Regions from separate parts of the Homo sapiens genome. Here regions 2 and 3 are each linked to region 1. The links are contacts of gene promoters, found by promoter capture Hi-C in blood cells and fetal thymus (Javierre and others, 2016). All regions are on one chromosome and are shown on one strand. Each heading gives the region's core, a stretch centred on a gene start or on the middle of the fragment in contact. The rest is flanking DNA. Distances are from core to core; before and after follow the strand shown. Region 1 holds the start of KMO (kynurenine 3-monooxygenase). Region 2 holds the start of DRC8 (dynein regulatory complex subunit 8). Region 3 holds the start of DESI2 (desumoylating isopeptidase 2).

Region 1 (2,983 bases), core at 208-2,707:
GTCCCTGACCACATTCTAAACAGGTACTCCCAAAGATACTCTCTACAGCACTACCCTGTTTTCGTTTCTTTCATAGTGCTTCTCTTTAACTGAAATTGTCTTATTTGTTTTCTTCTTCCTTGTCTTTTTCTTCTCTGGAATTCTCACCCTCGCATCCCTACTACCTAAAACAATATTGGTACATAGTAATCAGATTTTGTTGAACACATGAATTCTCATTTTGTGCAACATTTTGATAGGACAGATTGGACACAAGCCTAGTATGAAGCAGTGACGACACATGTCCCAACCAGTGACCAACACATCATGTGATAGCATTTCTAAATGAAAATTTAGAATCAGAAATATTAAAAGAACTGTTCTAGCACTTTGGGGAAAAGACACTAAGGAAGGCAGAACAAAAGACAGCATATACTGTATAAATACATGTGTGGCATAAAATATACCATCTATATTCAGCCTAGAACAGTGTTACGCCCTCAATAAATTTTTTGTTGAGTGGATATATGAATAATTAATGAAAAGTCTCCAAATGATTTGACCAAAGGTGATAGGGAAATGATTTAACCTTGACTAACTGGGATGTTTGTATTCTGAAACAGAAATTCTGCTGAGATGGGAAAAAGCAAAGTTGAATCGGAGCAGACCCATGTTAAACAGAACTACCTTTGGCACCATAACTATGAAAGCAGAGAGTGACCTCTCCTTCCGTCTTGTTAGGTATGGGGGAAGCCCCAGCACCTTTACGTCACGTGCTCAGTGAGAGGTGAACACCTCACTCCACTGTCTTAGGTGCTCCACTGGAAGAGTCAAGTAAGTCAGGCGACCACATAAATCTTATTCCCAATTACTCATATAACTAGTGAACATTCAACATGATACTTTGACGTTAGCTTCATGTTTCTTGACCCTTTTATTCTCATTAGACAGCATTAACTGAGTTATTAAACAAAGCGGAACAAATGTTTTTATTAAAATGAATATTGAGACTAATTCCTGTTCCTAAAAACATAGCCAATTTGGGGATAAAATCAAATTCAATTTGCATTATTTTTGCTTTTTAACAAATCCTAAACCAAAATGATGAGGGAAAACAGAAACCTTTGTATTTAATGGCTATAAAATACCTTTCCTGAAAAAGAACAGATTAAAACTCATACTATATTAAATCTATGAAAATAAAAATATTAAAAAAATAAACAAAATAGCTGTATTTAAATATCAGAGTTTTCACAAGAAAATTAACAATTTGCAGAAGTGACGAATAATAATCATTACGAGTAATAATAGTTAATATAATACCACCAACAATAGTAATCCATCTGAAAATTCTTACCAAGCCACCACCAATGACAGCTACTTTTTTCCTTTGAATGACAGATGAGTCCATAACTGCTGAAGTATTTTTCACAATTATTGTTGCTTCTGTCACTGAGTGACACTGATTTCTGTGTCTCCTACACACTGATTTCTCTGAGTTTTTATACTGCCCCAAGCCTAGTGCATTCATGAGCCAGCGGCAATGTTTAGTCAGGGCTAATTTCCCTTGACAGTATTAACCCATTAGTTGGCCAAAGTACAATCAGCTCAGCTCTAAGAAAAAATAAATCCATTACAATAACCAAATTTTTTAAAAAATCCATCCAATTGGAGACACTCTATTTTTTCTATCTTCTGTGTAAGACACAGAAATTTTTAAGCAGTCTTGTGGCTTTTCTTCTTCTTTTTCTACAGCATATATTCTTAGTTTCGTTTTCATTCATGATTAACCATGAATGGAGCCCTTCTCATCTGAAGTCCAAAAACATCTTATACCTCCCTTAGAGAGTAAGATGACATGGTTTCATAATTCATCTGTGGATCATTTTTGTGGTTAAGACCAATCAAAAATTTCATCTAAAGGGTCCTCATGGATTGTTTTTAACAGGCTCTACCAGGGAAAATTCTCTGCAAGGTCTTAATATTCTCCCGATCAACATTTTGAATTGTGTAACTGACCATACTTCCCCTTTTTTTTTTCAGCCCAGATGCTAGAAAATTTAGAATCTAATTTTAGAATCGAAAATTTAGAGTCTAATTACCACTAGGGGAGATGACTGACACAACGCTTCTGTAAACTCATTCCCGACTTCATATTATCTATTCACTTTTTTGTCTTTTTCACTCCGTTTTAAATGTTATACTTTTGTGCATGATTTGCGAATGGCAATTGTTTTCTGGAACATGATGTGGTGTAATGTAAAATAAGAACATAAATGAAGTTGTTTCTTCACTTCCTGTTAAGCACATAAAGAATTCAGAACGTTTTTTTCCCTGGTTAGGAACTAGAGTTAAATGGCATTCAATAGTGACCCCTTGTGGATAAGCATGATTAGGTATTTTATTTATTTTGAATAGGTAATACATTAACATGGCATGAAATTAAAGACACAAAAGAGTACACGGTGAATAGTAATCCTGCTAACCTTGACCCTTGGCCACCTATTCCTCCTGCCCAAAGACAACAACTGTTTTGGTGTGTGGGTTACCGTATTCTTCTACACGTTGATTATGTCTTTCTTGTTCTTCCTCTCTCTCCTTTTCTCTCTCTCTTTCTCTCACTCTCTCATTCCCTTCCTTCCTTTCTTTTTAAACATACATTTAAAAACTTTTTCCACATCATATTTCTCACTTTACAACATATAGCTTGAGAATTCTTCAATATCAATATGTAGAGAATATGTATCAATTCCTCAGTATCAATATGTATCATTGTTAAAAAATCTTTTAAAAATTATGAACTATAACACAAATGAACAGTATAATAAGTTACTGTAAAGCAAGTATCCATGTAACTACCATTTAGGTGCAGAGAGAGAATATTGCCAGAATCCCAGAAGTCTAACGTGCCCCCTGTTAATCACCCCTCCTTCGTAGAGGTAACTGCCATACCAACTTTCTTTGCTTTTATGTATAATTGTACCATGATAGATGCATCCCTAAA
Region 2 (2,983 bases), core at 160-2,659, 3.4 Mb before region 1:
TCATTAAGGAGGCAAAATGGTGGCCGCGAACGCCATCAGGCTGCGCCAGCGCGGGGTTTCGGCGCAAACAGAGGATCCCGTCAGATTCAGGCGGCCAGAACTCCTCCTCACCCAGGCCACCCCCCGGGGCCCACAGCCTGGACAGCTACGGGCGTGGCGCCTGCGGCACCGAGACCCCAGGCGAGAGTGTGGAGGCGGCGGCGGCTTCCCCGCGACCGTGAACAACGACGCCATTATCAGCACCCCCTGCCGGCGCCTCCGGCGCAGCCCGCGCAGGATGCAAGGCCCGGCCTCCGAGGGAGGGGGAAGGAGGACGGGGCGGGAGGAGGGGAAGAGGGTGAAGAGGGCGGGAGGAGAAAGAAGAAGGCGGGAGGAGGGGAGAGAGAAGAGGGAGGGAAGAGGGGAGAGAGGCGGGGCGGGGCGGGGGAGAGAGGCGGGGCGGGGCGGGGCGGAGCGGCGGGCCGGGCGGGCTACGGGGACGGGGGCAGGGCGACTGCTGCTGCCGGGTGGCCCCCTCCTCAGGCCGCCCTTTCCCTGCGGGTGGGAACTCCAGATGGACGAGGGCCCACCCCACCCGGCGCTTCCCCGTGCAGCCCGGGGTCGCGGCGGGCGGCGAGGGCAGCGGCTCCCCGGCTCCCCTACCTTACCTTCCCTGTCCTTCTCGTCCGCCATCTTGCTGCGGAGCCGGTCGCCTGGGAGATGCCTAACGATAACCTCGGCCGCGGTGTCCCGGCCTGCTCAGCGCCCCGCGGCGAGCCTGGCCTGGAGGAGGGGCCGCTCTGAATCCCGGGGGAGGAAGACCCTTGGGCGGGGCGGGGCGGGGAGGAGGCTCCGAGCGCGCGCCCTGTCCCCGTTTCGCGCCACGACCCTCGCGCTGGGGGAAGACCAGAGGCCCCGTCTGCCACCCGGCCCCCGGCCTTGTCCCTCCAGACCCGAGGCCGGAGCCGGACTTGTCCCGGGCCTAGCATGTTGCTTCATCACACGGTCCCCAACCCCTCCTTTCCCTTATTTCTCATCCATTTGGGGACAGCACGCGCGCGCACACACCCCTCGCCCCCTCCTGTCCTGTTTGTGCGACGTGGCGTTGCTCGATTTTTGTTGTTAACTGCAGATTTTGAAAAGCGCCGGAGAGCTAGGTGAAGAGCTGGGCTCCCAAGGGGGTGATAGAACCAGCCCGCGGCCCGGCCTCCTCCTCCCGCTTCCCATTCGCAGCCCGCCTCCCGCCGGGAAGCGGCCCGGCTGCTGCAGAACGGCCGCGCCTGCCCTCCCGGTTTCTCCCGTCCAGTCTTCACCGTCCTTTCCCAGAGAAAGCGACAGCACAGCCTATGACAACCGAAGCTAAAACGGAAAAACTGGGCCGGGCGCAAGAGGAAACCAGAGCCATTCGACTATTGCTAGAGGAGAGGAATAGCTGCAGGAAAACATGCGCAAAATAGCACAAACATTGCGTCGTCAAGGCTGCAATGTCTAATACAAAATAGAAGGTTCTCATAGCAACAAAAACGTGCCCATGTTGTGCTCAGTATTACATGCGTTAAAATGTTCTTAGTTGTGAAATTTGACATGACCGCTAGTTAAAGTTACAATGGAAGTTTTAAATCCCGCTTTCCGAAAACTTTGCAGCTATAGCATGAAGTTAAATTTTTGTCTTATTTTCTGGATAAGTTTACTATACTGGAACATAGTAAAGCTCTTTTTATAAAGAGCTTTGAATAAAATACCTAATGATGTGGTTGAAACGAACACCTATTTTCAAAACTAATCTTAAGTGGTATTTCAGTGCATATGTTATGTAAAAGCAATTTATAAACTAAATTTTAAGAGCCTTCAAAATACAAGGTACTCGTATTTAATGACTTAACAGTTTTAATGCTTTTATTGTTTCTATAATCTCTCAGGAAATCCTAAAACTGACTATATTTTTCTTTATTAAAATAACTTTTTCTGTAGAAGATACCCATTTGGCGCTGTGATCAGCATTCTACTTGAAATTGAATATAAACAACTGAATCATTACAAAATGGCTCATGTTAGAAGATACTTAAAACGAATACAATCTTGTACAGTAAATGTTTAACACCCCAAAATAACGAAAAGTAATTATTAGCATTCATTTATATCTAAATCTCAGTCAATATGATCTAAATATTTGTGTTTAAAGACTCCCCCTTTCCATATAGATAATGAAGGGCTTTGAAATAAGTGTAGGAAACCCTAAGTTTGGTCTCAGGCTTCCTATTCATTCACTATGCTTTTTCGTGTGCTGTTTACAGTTTCCTTTTTCTGGAATGCCTTTCCCTGCTTTTTTCCCCCGCCAACATTTCAGCTTCCCACAGACACACATTTGTGCCCTCCTGGTTGTCCTGCAGGATGACCTTTGTTTTTGTTTTTGTCTTTTGTTTTTCGAGACAGGGTCTCGCTCTGTCGTCCAGGATGGAGTGCAGTGGTGTGATCTCTGCTCACTGCAACTTCCGCCTCCCGGTCTCAAGTGACCCTCCCACCGCAACCTCCCAAGTAGCTGGGAGGAGCGGCGCGCGCCACCATGTCTGGCTAGTTTTTGTATTTTTTGTAGAGACAGAGTTTCCCCATGTTGCCCAGGCTGCTCTCAAACTCCTGAGCTCAAGCGATCTGCCGCCTGCCTGGCCCTCCCAAAGTTCTGGGATTACAGGTGTGAGCCACTGTGCCTGGCCAGGATGACCTTTTTGAAGTCACCTAGTCATTGAAGCTTTCCCTCTCAGCCTTTTCCTCTGTGGCCCCATGCTTATAGAGCCTCCCACATTGATTTGCAGTGCCTTCGTTCGTTCACTTTATTTCCACCTACCAAACAGTAAGATCTTGAAGACAGAAACGGCATTATTCGTTTATATATCCCCGGTATCTAGTACAATTTTTCTGTTTGCAATAATAAATGTCTTAAAACTTAAGAAAGGAGTAAGTCTTCTCAATGACTTTTTTTAAAAAAGACCCAGATTCAGCACTTATT
Region 3 (2,983 bases), core at 325-2,824, 3.1 Mb before region 1:
CCAGTGACACAGGCCACAGAACTTACAAAGTGCCATGGTTTTCTAGGATCTTTTGTTTGGCTTATTCTCCTCTTCAACTTTTTCTGTCCTGTTCCACTTTTCTCAGCATGTTAACTCATCTCCTTTCATCTCCAGGCTCACATCAGAATTCAACAGAGGACTCATCTCAAGTGGCAGGCAGTTCCTACACCCTTCTGACACAATTCCCAGATATGGCATGAGAAATCCCACTCTACCCAAGATATAATAACACTGTAAATTTAGAAACTTATAAATAATACAAGGGAATACAAAGTTTAGAACTGTATAAGACTCTTGGCCTGTAGTATTTCTGCTCTCCTGCATCTTTAAGCCAACAAAAATAACGACGGGCAATTTTTCATTTGTCAGTCAACTTACAAGGAATTTTAAGCACTGCAGTCAGAGGTACTAATCCAGTCTACAGAACAAAAACCCATTCTACAGAACAAAGCAAGCAAACACACCCAAACATGCATCTAACTGCAACGACAATTCTCTACCGGGTGCTTTTTTCTGGGGGCATTTCACTGCAAAAATCAGGCAAACCAGTTCTTGGACTCGATTCTGCGTGCTTGCCATACTCCAAAGTTAGATGATACAATAAACAACTTCTTCCCTTCCCTCTCCCGTGGTCACGTCACCTGTTGCATCACCTGGAAAGTGGTCTTCAGAGTGTAGGAAAGGAGCACCACCAGGATCTCTAAATAATTCAGCTGGGCTATTTTCTTGAGAAATGTTAGCCTCATTCATATTTTAACGAGGTTGCCTTTAACACACAAGGAAAGGGTGTGTTGGCTCCTGTTCACCTTTGAAGAGATTCTAGCACAGGCACCCGAAAGCTGTGACCTTCTGGACTTAGAGGGGCTTGGGAGTTTCTGAAGACGTAGCCATGGAGAGAGACGGACAGTTCGGCAGAAGCAGAGGAGCTGGGAGCGCAGGCGGTCGGGACGGGGGTCCCGGGGCAGCCCCGGGGGCCGGCAAGTGGGGTTGGAAACGCAACGGAAGCTTTGCCGAAAGGACACTGCACGTCGGCCAAGGGGTCGGGCCCAGAGCCGGGGTCGGGTCCAAGCTGAGCGGATGGGAGAGGTTCAAGCCCACCCGAGCTTTGGCCAAAACCCTCGGGCTGACTGGGTTCACCGGAGCGTCGACGAGTGCGAGGATTAAAAAATAACAATACTCCCTCCTTCACCCCCGGCTTCCCCCGAGAACTAGGCTGGAGGCGGAGACGCCAGGCAGGAAGCGCCTGGGGCCGGGGTCCGAGCCCCACGGGCGAGAGGAAGCCGGCCTGGGCCAGGGCTCGGGGCCGCCAGGGGCCGCACTCACCATGTCGTACACGTTGAGCACCACTAACTGGTTAGCCCCCATCCTCCTCCCCGCGGCCGCCGCCTCGTCCTCAAGCCGCTCCGTCTCCGCGGGGCCGGAGGCCGCTCTCACCCCCGCGGGCGCTTCAGGGGGCCTGAGCCGGGCACTAAGCGTACAGCCCGGCCCGCGGCAGCCGGGGCGGAAGCATCGGGCAGCCGAGCCGCTCCCGGGCGCCGCCGACAGGAGCGTCTGTGCGGACGGGGCCGGACCGTTGGCGGCCCGCTCCGGATGAGGCACCTCCCCTAGGCGGCAGACACGTGGGGAAAGGCGGGGCTTGAGCAAGGGGCGGGCGCCAGGCGCCCCGGGGGCGGGGCCGGCCCGGCGCCAGGACTGAGCCCGCCTGCGCTCTGGTTCTCGGCCGGCGCACCTCGGGACCTAAAATGGCGGCAACTCCGGCGCCTCCGCGTCCTGGAGGAACGGGGACCCAGGAAGACTACAGTTCCCAGCATGCAGTGAGGATTCCCCCTTGCTACTATAAGTGCAGAGGCGGAGTCTCAACAGCCCTTCGACTACAACTCCCTGCATGCCGCGGGGGCCCCGGTCCTACCAGACCAGGCCTCCCCGGGAGACTACAACTCCCAGCATGCAGTGCTTTAGAGCTGCGGCAGATCCCTTGCCGCCCGCGGGCGGTGAAATCTCCTACCTTCATTCACCCTCTCATCTCAGGTGCTGCTGCTGTTAGTAGTTCATGTTGCGTTGAGCTCGATGAAGCCAGCGAAATGTGGCAAAAGACCAGAGTGATGACCCTAAGTTTTCCAAATGCTTCCTCACCTTTTATTTGGCAAGGGGAGTGGTGGGGAAATAGAGGAAGACGAGTTACTGGTGTGGGATGAGGTGTAACGTGCATCCAATTAATCCTCAATGTGGAATTTACATTTTGTGAAACTATCCTGCTGAGATGGGAAGGGTACAGTAACCGTAGCTTAGCACAATCCTGGGACGTAGTATGCAGCTCTGCATTAATTCAACAAATGTTTGTTATGTGCTTCCTATGTGCCAGGCAGTGTTGTAGGCCCTCGGGAATGCCGTGATAAACAGGAACAGGGACATACAAAATATCACTGGTATGTGCTTTGCAGAAAATTTAAGTAAGGTGAAGTCATTCTTAAATTGGCTGCACGGGGAAGATCGCTGTAATGAGTTTTAAGCTGAAATGTGAATGACAAAGCCAGCCCCGCAGATATGAGGGGGAGGAGTATTTCAGTCAAAGGGAACAAATGCAAAGATCTGAAGCATGAAGGAGTTTTCTGTATTCAAGGAAACAAAAGATCACTCTTGCTGGGACACAGTAGGCAAGGAGTCGACGGTACTAGATGAGCTGGGCAGGTAGGCAGAGGCCAGATCCCGGAAGGATTTTAAAATTCATAACAGGGGTTGTATTTTAAACGAAGCCATAAGTTTGGACCAGGGAGTGAAATGAGTGTGCGTGTGTTTAAAAATGATTACTTGGGTTGCTGTGTGGAAAATGGATTTCAGAGAGGCAAAGGAGGTGGAAATAGGGAGATGAGTGTGGCAGATTGTGAAAATAGCCACAAATTATTTCCAGTCTCCCAAATTATACTCTTTGGTGGTGTCTACCCCCACTGACTGCACTGGACTG

What was found. The method cuts DNA at HindIII sites, captures the fragments that hold promoters and counts their contacts. A CHiCAGO score of 5 or more calls a contact.
Region 2: a contact is called between the fragment with the promoter of DRC8 here and the fragment with the promoter of KMO in region 1, in 1 of 17 cell types (monocytes). The highest score is 5.1, in monocytes.
Region 3: a contact is called between the fragment with the promoter of DESI2 here and the fragment with the promoter of KMO in region 1, in 1 of 17 cell types (neutrophils). The highest score is 5.9, in neutrophils.

Annotation. Positions count from the first base shown.
Region 1 is chr1:241,530,852-241,533,834 of GRCh38, reverse strand. KMO (kynurenine 3-monooxygenase) reads right to left here and starts at 1,457. Exons shown (of 15, transcript NM_003679.5): 1 at 1,337-1,457. The coding sequence starts at 1,390. RefSeq lists an enhancer at 1,725-1,874. The HindIII fragment of the contact is 7,761 bases long and covers 1-2,983 here.
Region 2 is chr1:244,968,108-244,971,090 of GRCh38, reverse strand. DRC8 (dynein regulatory complex subunit 8) reads right to left here and starts at 1,409. Exons shown (of 8, transcript NM_032328.4): 1 at 1,048-1,409; 2 at 648-762. The coding sequence starts at 672. It overlaps LOC124900416, which reads left to right and starts at 521. Exons shown (of 4, transcript XM_054328428.1): 1 at 521-765; 2 at 767-836; 3 at 839-2,983. The coding sequence starts at 554. The coding sequence ends at 1,105. It overlaps EFCAB2-AS1 (EFCAB2 antisense RNA 1), which reads left to right and starts at 222. Exons shown (of 2, transcript NR_111907.1): 1 at 222-279; 2 at 1,112-2,983. RefSeq lists enhancers at 1-116, 2,555-2,983 and silencers at 287-376, 387-746, 757-936, 1,207-1,346. The HindIII fragment of the contact is 4,895 bases long and covers 1-2,727 here.
Region 3 is chr1:244,651,717-244,654,699 of GRCh38, reverse strand. It overlaps DESI2 (desumoylating isopeptidase 2), which reads right to left and starts at 1,574. Exons shown (of 5, transcript NM_016076.5): 1 at 1,345-1,574. The coding sequence starts at 1,386. RefSeq lists a silencer at 1,061-1,830 and enhancers at 1,911-2,070, 2,330-2,903. The HindIII fragment of the contact is 4,542 bases long and covers 1,029-2,983 here.